Regions from separate parts of the Homo sapiens genome. Here all the other regions are linked to region 2. The links are contacts of gene promoters, found by promoter capture Hi-C in blood cells and fetal thymus (Javierre and others, 2016). All regions are on one chromosome and are shown on one strand. The core of a region is centred on a gene start or on the middle of the fragment in contact, and the rest is flanking DNA. Distances in the headings are between cores, read along the strand shown. Region 1 has its middle 370 kb from the start of KLF4. Region 2 holds the start of KLF4 (KLF transcription factor 4). Region 3 has its middle 460 kb from the start of KLF4. Region 4 has its middle 500 kb from the start of KLF4.

Region 1 (3,562 bases), core at 871-3,370, 370 kb after region 2:
GCAGGAAAATCCCTCAAGCCCAGGAGTTGGAGGCAGCAGTGAGCTAAGGTTACACCACTGCATTCCAGCCTGGGTGACAGAGCAAGATCCCATCTCTTAAAAAAAAACAAAAAAAAACCCTCATAAACAAATACATCTAATCTCAGCCAGCTTTTGAACACAAAAATAAGATTTCCATACAATGGATACCTTGTATTTTATAAAATAATCTCTTTTAACCTCTTACATAATATCTTACAATCTTATAAGATTATAATCTCTTGTATAATTCTTTTTATCTTCTTTCCCCAACATTTATATTCATTTAGTTTTATCTATAGCATATTTTCCTTCATTTTGAAACAACTTTTACATAACCTCAAAAAGAGACAAAATTACTTTTTGTTTGACAACATACTCATCCTCATGTCTTTTTTATAACGTTCTTCACCAAAAAACACCCATCTCACTTTATTTATTTATTTGAATTACAATGTGACTTTTCATACTTTGGAGTGAGCCCCACAGGAATAAAAAACACTGGGAAGGGAAGACCACTTGACCCTGAGGAGTGGCCCGGGGGGAGAGAGGCTACCTCAGGGGAAGGAAGCACAAAAGAGATGCCCTGCAGGCTCAGGGCAAAGGGAATGCCATCGGTGCTGGTACCTGTGAGCACTACAGGAGGAAATGTGAGTACGGTTGGACTGGCTTCAGGCACACTGGCAAACGGCAAGAGGGCTGGACACAAAGCCACAAATCTACTTGGGTCCTCCTTCTCCTTTTTTATTTTTATTTTTGAGATGGAATCTCGCCCTGTTCCCCAGGCTGGAATGCAGTGGCATGATGTCAGCTCACTGCAACCTCCACCTCCTGGGTTCCAGTGATTCCCCTGCCTCAGCCTCCGAAGTAGCTGGGATTACAGGCGTGTGCCACCATACCTGGCTAATTTTTTTTTGTATTTTTAGTAGAGATGAGGTTTTGCCATGTTGGCCAGGCTGGTCTTGAACTCCTGACCTCAGGTAATCCACTTGCCTCGCCCTCCCAAAGTGCTGGGATTACAGGCGTGAGCCACCATGCCCGGCCTGGGTTCTCCTTCTCATTTGCCTTTTTCTGCTTCTGCTGAATGGTCTCCAAGTCCCTCTGCTTGCAGGAGGCAACAGAAAGCCCATCATCTTGGTGCTTTCCCCTTAACCAAGTCACTCTGCTTTTTCATATTCTTCTGGTGGGCAAGTTCACCACAGTCATGGCTACGGCAGGGCAGCAGCTCTTACCTGCCTCTGTTGTGTCCCTCTTTCTGTCCGTATCTCACTTAATATGCTCCGTATACCGAATTGTTTCTTTTTTATCTCGTACTTTTAACTACAATTAACTATTACAATTAAAATTAACTACAGTTTCAACCCTTAGTAACCCTAATTTCCAGTGAAAAACCTAGGAAGTAATCTGAACTGTTTTATATCAGTATTTATAGATAAAAACCATTTCATAAATTTTTAGAAAGATATGTTCCCAGCTGAGCATGGTGGTTCACATCTGTAATCCCAGCACTTTGGGAAGCCAAGGCAGGAGGATCACTTGAGGCCAGAAACTCAAGACCAGCTTGGGCAACACAAGACTCTCATTTCAAAAAATAAAAGAGATATGTTTCCTCAATTTTTTTTATTTACTAACAGATCTAAATATATTTAGCTTTTCTATACGATGTAAAATAAGATGAAGTATAGAAACTTAAGCTTATGTTTAATAATTAGTGTTTTAGTATTTTATAATAACTTAGAAATGACTCAAACATTTTATGATTATCTGTTACTTAATTTAACATAATGTGTCTTTAAGATTTTTAAATTACTGAAAAGAATCTTCAAACTATGACACAGGTACACTACCTAATGTCTTCTACAGTCATACTGAGTCTCAAATACCACATGGCACCCGGGACAGCTACGAAAGGCAGGGACCTTCTGAATCCTGAATTTACACAGCAGGTGTAGAGGTCAGAACACTGGATGGAGCTGTAAAGAGAATGCCTGGAGGATCTGACTCTTCCTAGTATAACCAAGAAGCAAAGCTGGGCCATATTGGGCCTGGCTCTGCATTGGAGCTGGTGGCCCAGGCATTGACAACACAGGATGTGTCCCCAAGCCCACAATAGCCACTTGACCAGGCCCCAGTATCCAGAGGCTCAAAACCAAATACTTATGTAAGCTCCCAGTAAGATGTGTGCAAACCTTCAGGGGAGCCCAACAGCCAGCCCTTATAGCTTTAGCTTACAGATAAATCAAGCAAGTATCAAAAATATTATAGAAGCAGCAGTTTTGTTGCCTTAAAACATGTATTAGAGACAGCGTAAACCTGTCTGATCAGTAGATCCAGGCAAAAATGTTTGAATTATATTTAATACTGACAATTCTGGAGATATTCCTATTTTATTATACCAACAATTTTAAAACTAGCTTTATCTACCAAGTATCATTTTAGAGCACATAGAAATATCACATGAACATAACATATATAGACACACAGATATACAGACACACAGAAGCACATCTTAAAGCTTTCATGAAGGTTTTGCATTGGCCAGTTTACAAATAATTTTTCTTTCCTCTATTCAGACTATCCATTTCCCAATTACCTATTTCATTGTCCTAAGTAATTGTTAGTTATGTAACCCTACATTTACACTTCTAAACGGATGCCTTTTAGGTGAAACAAAGGAGAAAACGTGTATCTCAAAAGCACAGAGACTTCAGGCCTAATCATTATACCATCATTTGCTCAAATCAACAAAGGAGAGTGTAGGTAAGGGCCCAGTTAAAATGGCCAGGAAAATCACCTTATAGGTAACACATGTTATGTAAATCTAATCTACCTTTCACAGTTTCTAGTGACTCAGTCCTCCCTCTCTTCCCAGTGCACAGAGGAGTCAATCTTAAAATCTAAGATTTCCTTTATAGATGTATTTTTTAAAATATAAAATGGTTTTAAAATAGCTAGCTAAGTGCCAGAAAGATGTATTTTGGAGACCAACTTAGTTCAATAGGTGGACTTTTAAACTTAGTGTCTGTTTCTTAGCTAAAATTACAGAGTTCAGGGTGAAACCCATTAAAGAATAGGGCAGGGAAAGCATTCTCTATGCCTGAACTCAGCATGGATAGCTCTGAAAAATAATTAAGCCCTCTTTACCTGAGGGCCTGCCTTTTGTAAATACTACAGCCAACTTTCTTTTCACCTTCAGGGCAGAATAGAAACTAAGCCAAAAAGTTAGCAGATTCAATTTTTCTTATCAATTAATTGCTTAAGCTTTCTATTTGCCTTTCAAAAAGCCTTTTTAAAAAGATAATAAAAATATTAGAATCTTTTTAGAAGCTTCTGCCCATCACTAGGCATTCCTGGATAAGCCTAATTTCAGGAGCCCTCACTTTTAAATGCCTTTCTTAAAGTGCAGTGTTGTTCATTTGGAAAGTTCTACTGTAATTTTAAATTATCTTTATTAAGATTTTGCCAACTTTGTGTTTTCTGCTTCTATAGCTGGAAGATGGAGAGCTCAGTTCTTCAAAAATTAAGGGTCCTATTGTTGTGGAAC
Region 2 (3,625 bases), core at 622-3,121:
CGCCCGGCGCCACGCCCGGGTCGTTCCCGGCCCGGATCGGATAGGTGAAGCTGCAGGTGGAGGGCGCGCTGGCAGGGCCGCTGCTCGACGGCGACGACGAAGAGGAGGCTGACGCTGACGAGGACACGGTGGCGGCCACTGACTCCGGAGGATGGGTCAGCGAATTGGAGAGAATAAAGTCCAGGTCCAGGAGATCGTTGAACTCCTCGGTCTCTCTCCGAGGTAGGGGCGCCAGGTTGCTACCGCCGCAAGCCGCACCGGCTCCGCCGCTCTCCAGGTCTGTGGCCACGGTCGCCGCCGCCAGGTCATAGGGGCGGCCGGGAAGCACTGGGGGAAGTCGCTTCATGTGGGAGAGCTCCTCCCGCCAGCGCTGCGGGGACAGGGCGGGAGAGACCTGTCAGTGGTGGTCCCCTGTTGCCACCCGACATACTGACGTGCTGGCGGGCCACGCGCGACTGCACCGCCCAGACATGGGGACTGGTCAGGCAGGAAGCACCCGGGAACCCAGGGCGCCAGCGCTGCAATCTCGGCCCACTCCCGGGTCGAAGAAGAGGTGATGCGTCTGTATTGCGGGTGTTATGTCCTGTCTGCCCAATTGCGTGTGAGCGAGCGCCGCGGCTGGTCCCTCCCCCTCCAGGTCCCGTGGACGTCCCCGGAATTGGCACACCGAGGCTCTCTCGGTGCGCTCTCGCCACGGGGCCGCCTACGCGCTAAACTCACTCTGGCCCAGCCAGTGTCTGGGGACGCGGCCACCTCCCGCCCGGTGGCCCGAGAGCGCCCGCCCTACCGACAGCGCGCCCGGGGACTGGTGAAGACCCGGCTTGCGCCCCAGGCGGCTCCGCAGTGCTCGCACCACGGGCATACACAGCTGAGCCAAGGACACGGAAGCTATCCCGGGAAGGTTGCGGAGTCCGCGCGGTGGCCGCTCCTTACCCTCGTTCAGTGGCTCTTGGTGACCCCAAGGCTCCGCCCGCCCCCACCACACCCACGAAAACCCACCGGGCGTTCCCGGCGGCCCGGAGCGATACTCACGTTATTCGGGGCACCTGCTTGACGCAGTGTCTTCTCCCTTCCCGCCGGGCCAGACGCGAACGTGGAGAAAGATGGGAGCAGCGCGTCGCTGACAGCCATGTCAGACTCGCCAGGTGGCTGCCTGCGAGCAAGGCAGGGAGCGGAGACAGGAGAGTCAGGGGCGGCTTTCGGCCGTCGTTCCGGCGCGTCCCACCGGTCCTCACCCCTCCCTGCTCCCAGCGCCGCGCGCCTCACCTACCTCATTAATGTGGGGGCCCAGAAGGTCCTCGGCAGCCCGAAGCAGCTGGGGCACCTGAACCCCAAAGTCAACGAAGAGAAGAAACGAAGCCAAAACCCAAAACCCCAAATTGGCCGAGATCCTTCTTCTTTGGATTAAATATAACTTGGAAGCGTCTTTTTTAAAAAGTTCCTTTGTATACAAAAGTTCTTAGAAAAGTTGTAAACGCAAAAATAGACAATCAGCAAGGCGAGTAAGTAGGTCCGGTGGCCGGGCTGCGCTCTCTTCCACTCAGCAGCGTCCCCCACCACTGTCGCGGTCGCCTCGAGTGCTGCCGTGGGCGCAGGGGCTGTGGCCGGGGCGGTGGGCGGGCGGTGCCGCCAGGTGAGACTGGCTGCCGTGGCGCGGAGCTGCGAACTGGTCGGCGGCGCAAGGCGCGGACTCCGGTGAGTTGTGTGGAGCGCGCGCGGCCATGGGCGCGGGCCACGGGCGGGTGGGAGGGTGGGGGGCCAGAGGGGCGGGGGAGGGTCACTCGGCGGCTCCCGGTGCCGCCGCCGCCCGCCACCGCCTCTGCTCCCCGCGCGCCCGCAGACACGTTCGTTCTCTCTGGTCGGGAAACTGCCGGCCGCCGGCGCGCGTTCCTTACTTATAACTTCCTTCGCTACAGCCTTTTCCTCCGCCTTCTCCCATGCCCCGCCCCTCCCTTTCTTCTCTCCGCCCCCCCCGAGGCTCCCTTCCATCGTTGCTATGGCAGCTAAATCAACAAACTCGGCGCACGTGGGGGCGGGGGAGGGGAAGGAGGGGCGCGGGCGGGGCTGGGCCGGGCCGTGACGCCAGCCAGGCAGCTGGCGGGCTGGAGCCGAGCTGACGCCGGCGGCAGTGGTGTCGGCGGCGGCGGCGGCGTCCGCCCCAGCGCGGGGCGCGAGGAACCGGGCGCAGGTTCGGTCGCTGCGCGACCAGGGCCGTACTCACCGCCATTGTCGGCTCCCTGGGTTCGAAGCCCGCGAAGACTGGTGGGGTCAGCGGGCGGCACGGTCACGCGTCCGCACCCCTGCTAGCATACGCGCTTGCCGCGCTGTCTGCGCGCTGGAGAAGAGCGCGATTATCCGCGTGACTCATCCAGCCCTCCATCTCCCCCTCCCTCTCTGCGCTCGCAGGAGTCCGCTCTCGTCGCTCAGCGCCAGTGCCGGTGGCGGTGCCGGCGCTCGGCCTGACCTCGCACGGTTCCTCGCGGGCCCTTCTGCTGAGGGGTGGGGGGCGCTAGGGGTGTGGAGAGGAGGCAGTGCCCAGCACTGTGCAGCGTGAACTGGGAGCCTCAAGAGAAGGCCAGAGGAGTGTTCCGCCGGGAACAGGCGGAAAGAGGCACGAATGGGGAGTTATGGTTTTGATACTTTAAATAGCGAGAAAGGGAGTGAAAGGGCTCAAGATTTACTCAGAGGCATAAGGGAGAGAAGAGGGACTGTGAGGCGCGGAGACAGTTTTCAACCAGCCATCTCGAAGCCCTTTCCTTTTTTTTTCTTTCTTTTTTTTTTTTTTGTGAGACAGAGTCTCGCTGTGTCGCCCAAGCTGGAATGCAGTGGCACGATCTCAGCTCAGTGCAACCTCCGCCTCCTGCGTCCAAGCGATTCTCCTGCGTCAGCCTCCCGAGTAGCGGGGATTACAGGCGTGCGCCACGACGCCGGCTAATTTTTGTATTTTTCGTGGAGACGGGGTTTCACCATGTTGGCCAGGCAGGTCTCGAACACCTGACCTCAAGTGATCAGCCTGCCTCGGCCTCCCGAAGTGCTGGGATTACAGGCGTGAGCCACTGCCTGTAATATTTGATGACTAAATTGCACTGTAGAATAATAATAATAATAGAAGACACCCATTAAAGAAGAATTAAACACTCACTGATGACTTTTCAAGCCACGCACTCTCCTTTCCACTTTATGGATGAGAAATTGAGTCATAAAGAGGTGAAATGGCCAGTAAAGGTCAAAGGACAACTCGTTCCTTCGGCTCAGGCTCCGGGTAGGTCAGGCCCCCCTAAAGGGACTTCCCTGGGAAGTGACCATGTGCCAGGAAGTGGAGCGATGCGGTGGGATCCTAGCTCTCAAAAAGTGCACACCGAGCCCGCCGCAGGCGTCCTTGCCCACCGGGAAGGGAATAGGAAACGGCGATCTTTACTTCAATCTTATAACGCTGCCTCCCCCACCCCCACTCTCCCCTTGGTTTGTGATCAGTAATTTTCCAGCTGGGAAATGTTTTGCTCTCATCTTCTTAGCAAACAGTATTTTTTTTTAAAACGTGAATGTGGTGTTCGGTATCACTTTCTAAACGTAGGTTTGGCGAGGTGTTTACTTTGGATTCCGGCGTTCGGCGCGGGACTCCGCC
Region 3 (3,331 bases), core at 556-3,055, 460 kb after region 2:
GGTGATGAGGAAGGCGAGGTAATATGAGAAAAGACATGGTATTATAAAATACCACAGTTTGTTCAGGAAACTGGAGTTAAGTGTCAAGCAGGTAGCATTGATGGGGGAGATGCGGAACATGGAAGAGAAGAGAGGATGGAAGGCCTTGACTAACATCTTAGAAGGGTGTTGCATGGTTAAATTTTCACTCCAGATAGATCCATAGAACATAAATCAATGAAACCGGGACATTCTCCCTCTCTCAAAAAAATATATATTTTTCTCTCTTGAGAATATATACATATACACACACACACATATATATAGAGAGAGGAAATATATATAGAAAACAGTTATATATATATAGAAAAAATATAGAGAAAAACATTTAACTATATACAAAATACATGTTTAGAGGGAAATATATATGGAAAATATTTGATACATAGAAAATATTTAGAAAGAAATATAGAGAAAGATAACATATATGTATATATGTATGTATGTGCGTATATATATTTTTTCTGGTACTGAAAAAATGCCTATCACATAATGTGTGTTCAAAATATATCTAGATGCTTGAATCACTCTAGATGTTGTGTGAATGATGGAGTTGAAGTGAACAGAGGATAGAGGCTCCAGTTTCATTTAGAAGGTTGTCATATTGATTTAGGCAAAAATGATGAGGTTTCAAGTCATGATGGGGACAGATATAATGTGGAAAAGAGGACCAATTATAGACACATTTAAGAGGAAAAAATATGGAAAACTTGATAATTGATTGTATGTGGCAGCAGACCAGGCACTGAGGGGAAAAAGGATATTAAGAACGACTCCCAAGGGTCTGGCTTGGGAAAGTGGGTGGGTGGATTGTGCTCATGGAGAGTGAGATCACAGGAGGAGGAACAGATCTTGGACAATCATGAGGAGTTTAATATGAAACATATGGAAGTTGAGGGCATTTTGAGGGGCACCTGGAGCACATGAAAAAGTTTGTGAAGGAGATAAACGTCTATAGGCTGGGCTTGTAATCCCAGCACTTTGGGAGGCTGAGACGGGTGGATCACTTCAGGTCAGGAGTTCAAGACCAGCCTGGCCAATGTGGTGAAGCCCCCCCCCCCCCCCCCGTATTAAAAATACAAAAATTAGCCAGACATGGTGGCACACACCTGTATTCCCAGCTACTCGGGAGGCTGAGGCAGGAGACTCGCTTGAGCCTGGAAGCAGATGTTGCTGTGAGCTGAGATCGCACCACTGCACTCTAGCCTGGGTGACAGAGTGAGAATCTGTCTCAGGAAAAAAAAAACAAAAACCCAAACCAAACGAAACTAAGAAACATCTACAGGGCCGCCGCAGACGGGTGGTAAGCGAAACTTCTAGACGGCATGGTAGCTCTATGAGACTGGGTAGAAACAAGAGTGAGCAGGACAAGGCACACAACCTAAGAAACTCTGGCATTTAAGGGGTCATCACAGAAAAAAGAGATTAAAAATAAGTGAAGAAGGAATAAGAACCAAGAGTGAATTCCAGAGAGAGCTCGTGGGATGGAAGCTAATGACAGTAAGAAACTCAGGAAGGTTGATTAGCAGCGTCTATGCTGCAGAAAGGCCCAGAAGATACCAATGGAAAGGGCCAACTGAATTAGCCAATTAGGAAGTTTACCAGTGAACTTGGAGAGCACCGGGCTGGTAGAGTTATGTCTGAAATTAGATTAACATGGGCTAAACAGTGAGTGGGAAGTAAGAAAATGAAGATAACATTAGCAAGAAGTATGGCAGAGGGATGGAGAAAGGGATAACAGGAGATTTAGTGGCAAAAAGAGGTATAGGAGATTTGCAATACACATCTAAATATTTAAACAAATAACCAGGAACCAACCATAAGCTCTTTTGCCTTTGAAGTTGGAGGTGGTATCCATAAATTGGATTTTGACACCAAACGTTCGGTTGATCACATTAGAGAGTTTAAGCTGTGCTGCTTCCACTTGTACCCCCGAGGGCAAGACCTTCCACTTAGATACTTGGGCAGGCAAAGATACTCCTTTCCTCAGTGGCCTCAGCATCCTTACTGCTCAGGATGCAGCTGATTCCAACAACCAAAAGGTGCATATGAGAGGGACCCAGCGAGAAACTGGCCTTACTAATTAGTCAAGCTCCTGTTGGGAAGTGTGAGACCTTTAACTGGAAGTTGGAGAGCAATGATACCCTCAGCATTGTACTGAAGATGCAGAGTCACCAAATTCTCCTGAGCCTGCAAAGGCTTAAATTAAGATAATAATTTCTACCTCATCAACCTATTGACAGTATGAAATACACTAATATATTTAAAGGGCTTAGCAAGAGGCCCAGCATATAAAAAGTGCTCAGTAAACAGTAGTTCCTTTCTGTGACTAAGTTGCTTCATTATCTTCTCCCTGATGTCAGTTTCTGGGTGCCGCTGATAAACCTTGATGTCCGTAATGTGATTGACTATATGGCACCTCTAGAGGAGAGAGGTGAGATGCAGCATGGCACTAGAGAGACAAGATGTCAGGCACTTAGGCTCTTAATGCTGGCTCTGACTGTTAGAAATAACTTTAAACACTCTCTCATTCCTGCCACATCATCCACCCCTTGGATCCCAGCTACTATCTCATGGTTGTGTCTTTGGACAGGTCTCTTCACCTCTCTGCTCTTCACCTTCCTAGAAAATGAGATAATTGTGAAATAAGTGAAAGTACTTTGAAAAGTATAAAGCACTGTCCAAATATAATATTTTAATTACAGTTAAGGTGATTGCTTATTTAATTCATAGAGAAGATTATTCTTGCCTCAACTAAATGATTTAGGGACAAATATTTTTAACTTGAATCACGCAGATGATTGCTTAGGCTCTCCAACTCCCATTGGTTGTGTTGACACAGCTTTTGGAATTTGAAAAGGAGTTCCTCCATGAACATGAAATTGGAAACTTCTTTTTCTTGGACGTGGCTTTTTGCAGTATCTTTGAATAATTCTTCAGATTCTTCAGACTGGATGGATTCTTCCTATGACCAAAGTTCTCAACTGGTCAAAGGCAAAACCCACCTCCAGTTTCTTGGAAGTATCTCTTGTTAAGCCAGCCCTACTCCTCTTTATCTGAAAGAGAGAGTAAATGTAGGCATACGATGCCTTTAAACACATAGGGCAGTGCCTGCCTTTATTTACTAGCTAGAAAAGAATTATCTGCTGGGCAGTGTGACAAAATTACATTGTGATTTCTGGTTCTCCAAAGCGGAAGAGGGAATACAATTCCTTCCCAAGAACTCTTCGGTTTGGCAGTTGGGGTTGTTTGAGCTGTGATAAAGGCTAATATTTATTCAGCCACCTTCCCA
Region 4 (3,383 bases), core at 466-2,965, 500 kb after region 2:
TATTGATTATTTTCATTATTATTGAGTAATCACCAGCCATGACACCACTCCCTGTGTGGTGTCTCTGGGGCTGGTGTTCTAGACTGAGGGATTGCAGCATCAACATTAACACATTTCACAGGCTCCAGAATAGCACTGATCACGGGAAAGATTTATAAATAAGTCCCCCACCTAATCAGGAGCAGATCCAAGGATTCTGACTTTCTTTTGAATAATGGCAGCAGAGACTATGGCACAGAGAGAAGGCCTGGAAATGGGCTTTCTTAAGTTCCCATGAGCAACATCAGCAGGGCTTCTGATCCATGGTAGATCCCACACTTGGTCTCTTTCTCAGTTGACTGGATCTCTCTCCGTTTCAGAGATTGAGGAGGAGAGCATATCAACAGCAGAACTGATCGCCATTCTCAGGAAAACTCACCAGCAATCATCCAGAATCCCCATGTAAGGCCAATTACTTTTGGGTCGTAGAGCCCAAGATGGGTTCCAGGATCTCACTTGAGGAAGCATCACAAAACCTGGGAAAACTTCATAATCTCCACAAACCAGCATTTTAATTCTAATAGTCTTGGAGTCCTGAGTCACTCTGGAGGGTTGGGGGTTGGCTTCAACATTTCTCCCAGGAGGCCATAGCATGTTTTTGCAAATAGACTCTCGAAGAGCATCTCAGATGTTCCAGACTTTTTCAAGGGGGTTGCAGGAATTCCCCTGTGCTGCAATAATGTAATAGAACTCACCAGGGCTTAGTCAGGCCAAACTACCATAGTTTCATGAATTCATCGTACAGTTTCATGCCGCTCCACCTTTAAACATGTTTTCCCTCTGCTTAGAGGAATTATTCCTCCCCCTGCTTTCCTGCGCTTCCCTATTCATCCTTTAAAACCTCATCTCAAAGTTCCTCTGTGAAGACATTCCTAATTTTTACCCTCCCTCTATTCCATCAACAGACTTGGCTTCAAATCTCAGGACGTGGCCCATTTAATGAGTTCTCAAGAAATGATTATTGTTTTCTCAAATTCTTGGAGTTGACCTGGTTTCTTCTCCAGCCTCTGACAGTCAGACCAAATGCAATGCAGGCGGCTAGAAATCAACTATGCAGTTGTGAAACCTGCAATTTGAAGCAAGATTCTTGATTGCTCAAATGAGAGTTATGTAAGCTTTGTTTGCATGGTGCAATGGGCAGGAGGACCTCACTGTGAGCAGAGTTTTGGAGGCTATTTCTGGTGTGACAGCACCTCTGCTTCATTTCCACCAAAACCATCATATCTCCCAGCCCCAGTAGAATTCCTGGTTCAAAGCAAGCACTCAACACAGATCTGCTGTTTCAGGGAGATGATAAAACAAGCTCAGTGAGAAGAGGATCCCACGAGGCTTTCCCAGTCTTTCTCTACAATACTTAGTGACCCATTTGCAGAAACCCATCCTGGCTGCCTGAAAGGCCATTTCCCCATCTTAAGATAGTAATCAGGACAGAGGAGGGAGGCTCATTATTGATAATGAGGCTGACTAGCAGTAGGCGTCTGGTGACAGACGCCATCACAGCTCACAGTGGTTATTATTGTTTTATCATTATTACTATCAATTTTTTTCTTTTGCTTTTTTATGGTATGAAAATTATCACTTAATATTCTTGGAAAGTCATTTTCACTCCATATTTTTTCTATTTCCTTTTTCTATTTGGATGTCCTTAAAAATTTCTACCAGGAGAAAGGGCTCAACCAAGGAAAATTAAAACTAGCATCCCTATACATCAACTCAGCCTAAAGTAGAATAAGGCAAATCCTTAGTCCTGAGATGTGGAACTTTTGACAGGCCATGTTTTTAGATCCATTTCAACCCATCTCAACGCCTCCTTTCCGAGGAGACATTTCTTTGCCCCTCAACAGAGGTGGCCTTTCCTCCTTCACATCTCGTTTTTTTCTAAATAACATTATCATAGCTGTTTATGTGGCCTAGTACTCTTAGTAAATTAAGAACTCCTTGATTTTGGAGACCATAGTAATTTTGTTTGGTGGAAAAAACAATGCTCTGGAGACAGATGTTTGGGTTTAAATTTTTCTGTCATTGGTTAAGTGTGTGACATTATATAAGTTACTCATCTTTTCTCAATTGATTTCATCATGTATGATACATGGATAATACAACCTACTTTGCAAGTTAGTTGTGATGATAGAGTAAGATACCGTGAATGAAGGGCTTGGCCATGCAGGTTAGTGCCGTGGGATCACACAGCCTCCCCACTAACTAGCTGCTCAGCCTGGTCAAGTTATTTAACCTTCTAAGCTTCAGTTTTCTCTACTGTAATATAGGAGAACCAACAGGTTCCTTCTCATAAGGTTTTGAGAGGATGGAAGGAGCTAATAGATATGAAGAGCTCAGCACAGAGCTTGACAGAGAGTGCTCAGTAAATGTCTGTTATCAGTGCTTCATTCATTTTTTATTCCCTCTCTCCACCTCAGTCTTCTGAAGCATCCTACCTGATGCCTGGCAGAGAGGCAGTAAATATTGTTGAACTAAAACCATGTTGTGTTGCGTGGCATGTCATATGACAGCTTGGATGGTCATTTCCCCTGCTTTCATGGTTGTTTCAAGGATTTCCTTGAAATAAAGTTCCATATTTAAAAGGAGAAATTCAGCTAAAATGTCAAGAATTAGCTACTTTGAGGAGAAGGGAAATAAGCTTATGATTAAATACAGAAAGGGGATAGAGAGAGAAAGAGAGAGAACAGGAATTAGAGATTAGAGGCAGGGTGACTAAATGGGATAAGACAGGGTCAGGGGACATTCTGACAGAGGAAGAACTAGGTGAAACTTGCACAGACTCCTCCTACAACCATCTAGGATCCCTAGAGGATGCTGGATGTTGGAGACAGGGTCATTGTCCCTAGATTGGTGGTGGTAGTTGGGGGATAGAAGGGAGTAGATACATTCCACACTCTTCACCTCACCAGGAAGCCCTGGCATCCAGGAATCTGTGACCAAGATGGACCCAGCCCCATAAGAACTGCTCAGAAGAAACCTGGTGAGGTCCCTGCTGGCTCCATTAGCCAGTGGCCCCAGTGACCCAGAGCATGCTTCTCCAGAAACCACGTGTCCTTCTTAGTCAGAATTGTTGCCTCTCAGAGACTTCGGGGGCCCTGGACAGGCCCCTCCACCCTTGGTCTGGCAGCAGAGCCCAATCAAAGGCAGTTGCTGGGCTGTGGGCCGTGGCAGGCTTGGCCAGGTCCTGCTGTGTCCAGTGAGTCAAGCACAACCTGCAGCCGGCAGAATGACTTAGAGCCTGGGATCTCTGCTGCAATTAGAATGTGTAATTGGAAAATCTCAGACAATCTTATTTGGGAGAATTCTTTTCACCAAAACCCAAGAAATTCTTAGAAACCTTCCAG

What was found. The method cuts DNA at HindIII sites, captures the fragments that hold promoters and counts their contacts. A CHiCAGO score of 5 or more calls a contact.
Region 1: a contact is called between a fragment that was not itself captured here and the fragment with the promoter of KLF4 in region 2, in 1 of 17 cell types (M2 macrophages). The highest score is 5.6, in M2 macrophages.
Region 3: a fragment that was not itself captured here is called in contact with the fragment with the promoter of KLF4 in region 2 in 1 of 17 cell types (monocytes); the score reaches 5.0 in monocytes.
Region 4: a contact is called between a fragment that was not itself captured here and the fragment with the promoter of KLF4 in region 2, in 2 of 17 cell types (monocytes and M2 macrophages). The highest score is 5.4, in monocytes.

Annotation. Positions count from the first base shown.
Region 1 is chr9:107,853,046-107,856,607 of GRCh38, forward strand. It overlaps the pseudogene LOC101926973. Among named protein-coding and RNA genes, the nearest start is that of KLF4, 370 kb to the left of the region's middle. The HindIII fragment of the contact is 821 bases long and covers 1,711-2,531 here.
Region 2 is chr9:107,487,898-107,491,522 of GRCh38, forward strand. KLF4 (KLF transcription factor 4) reads right to left here and starts at 1,872. Exons shown (of 5, transcript NM_004235.6): 1 at 1,271-1,872; 2 at 1,033-1,153; 3 at 1-370. The coding sequence starts at 1,275. RefSeq lists silencers at 684-733, 1,385-1,584, 1,944-2,153. The HindIII fragment of the contact is 11,219 bases long and covers 1-3,625 here.
Region 3 is chr9:107,943,250-107,946,580 of GRCh38, forward strand. No RefSeq gene overlaps it. Among named protein-coding and RNA genes, the nearest start is that of KLF4, 460 kb to the left of the region's middle. The HindIII fragment of the contact is 4,438 bases long and covers 1-3,331 here.
Region 4 is chr9:107,988,597-107,991,979 of GRCh38, forward strand. No RefSeq gene overlaps it. Among named protein-coding and RNA genes, the nearest start is that of KLF4, 500 kb to the left of the region's middle. The HindIII fragment of the contact is 1,126 bases long and covers 1,153-2,278 here.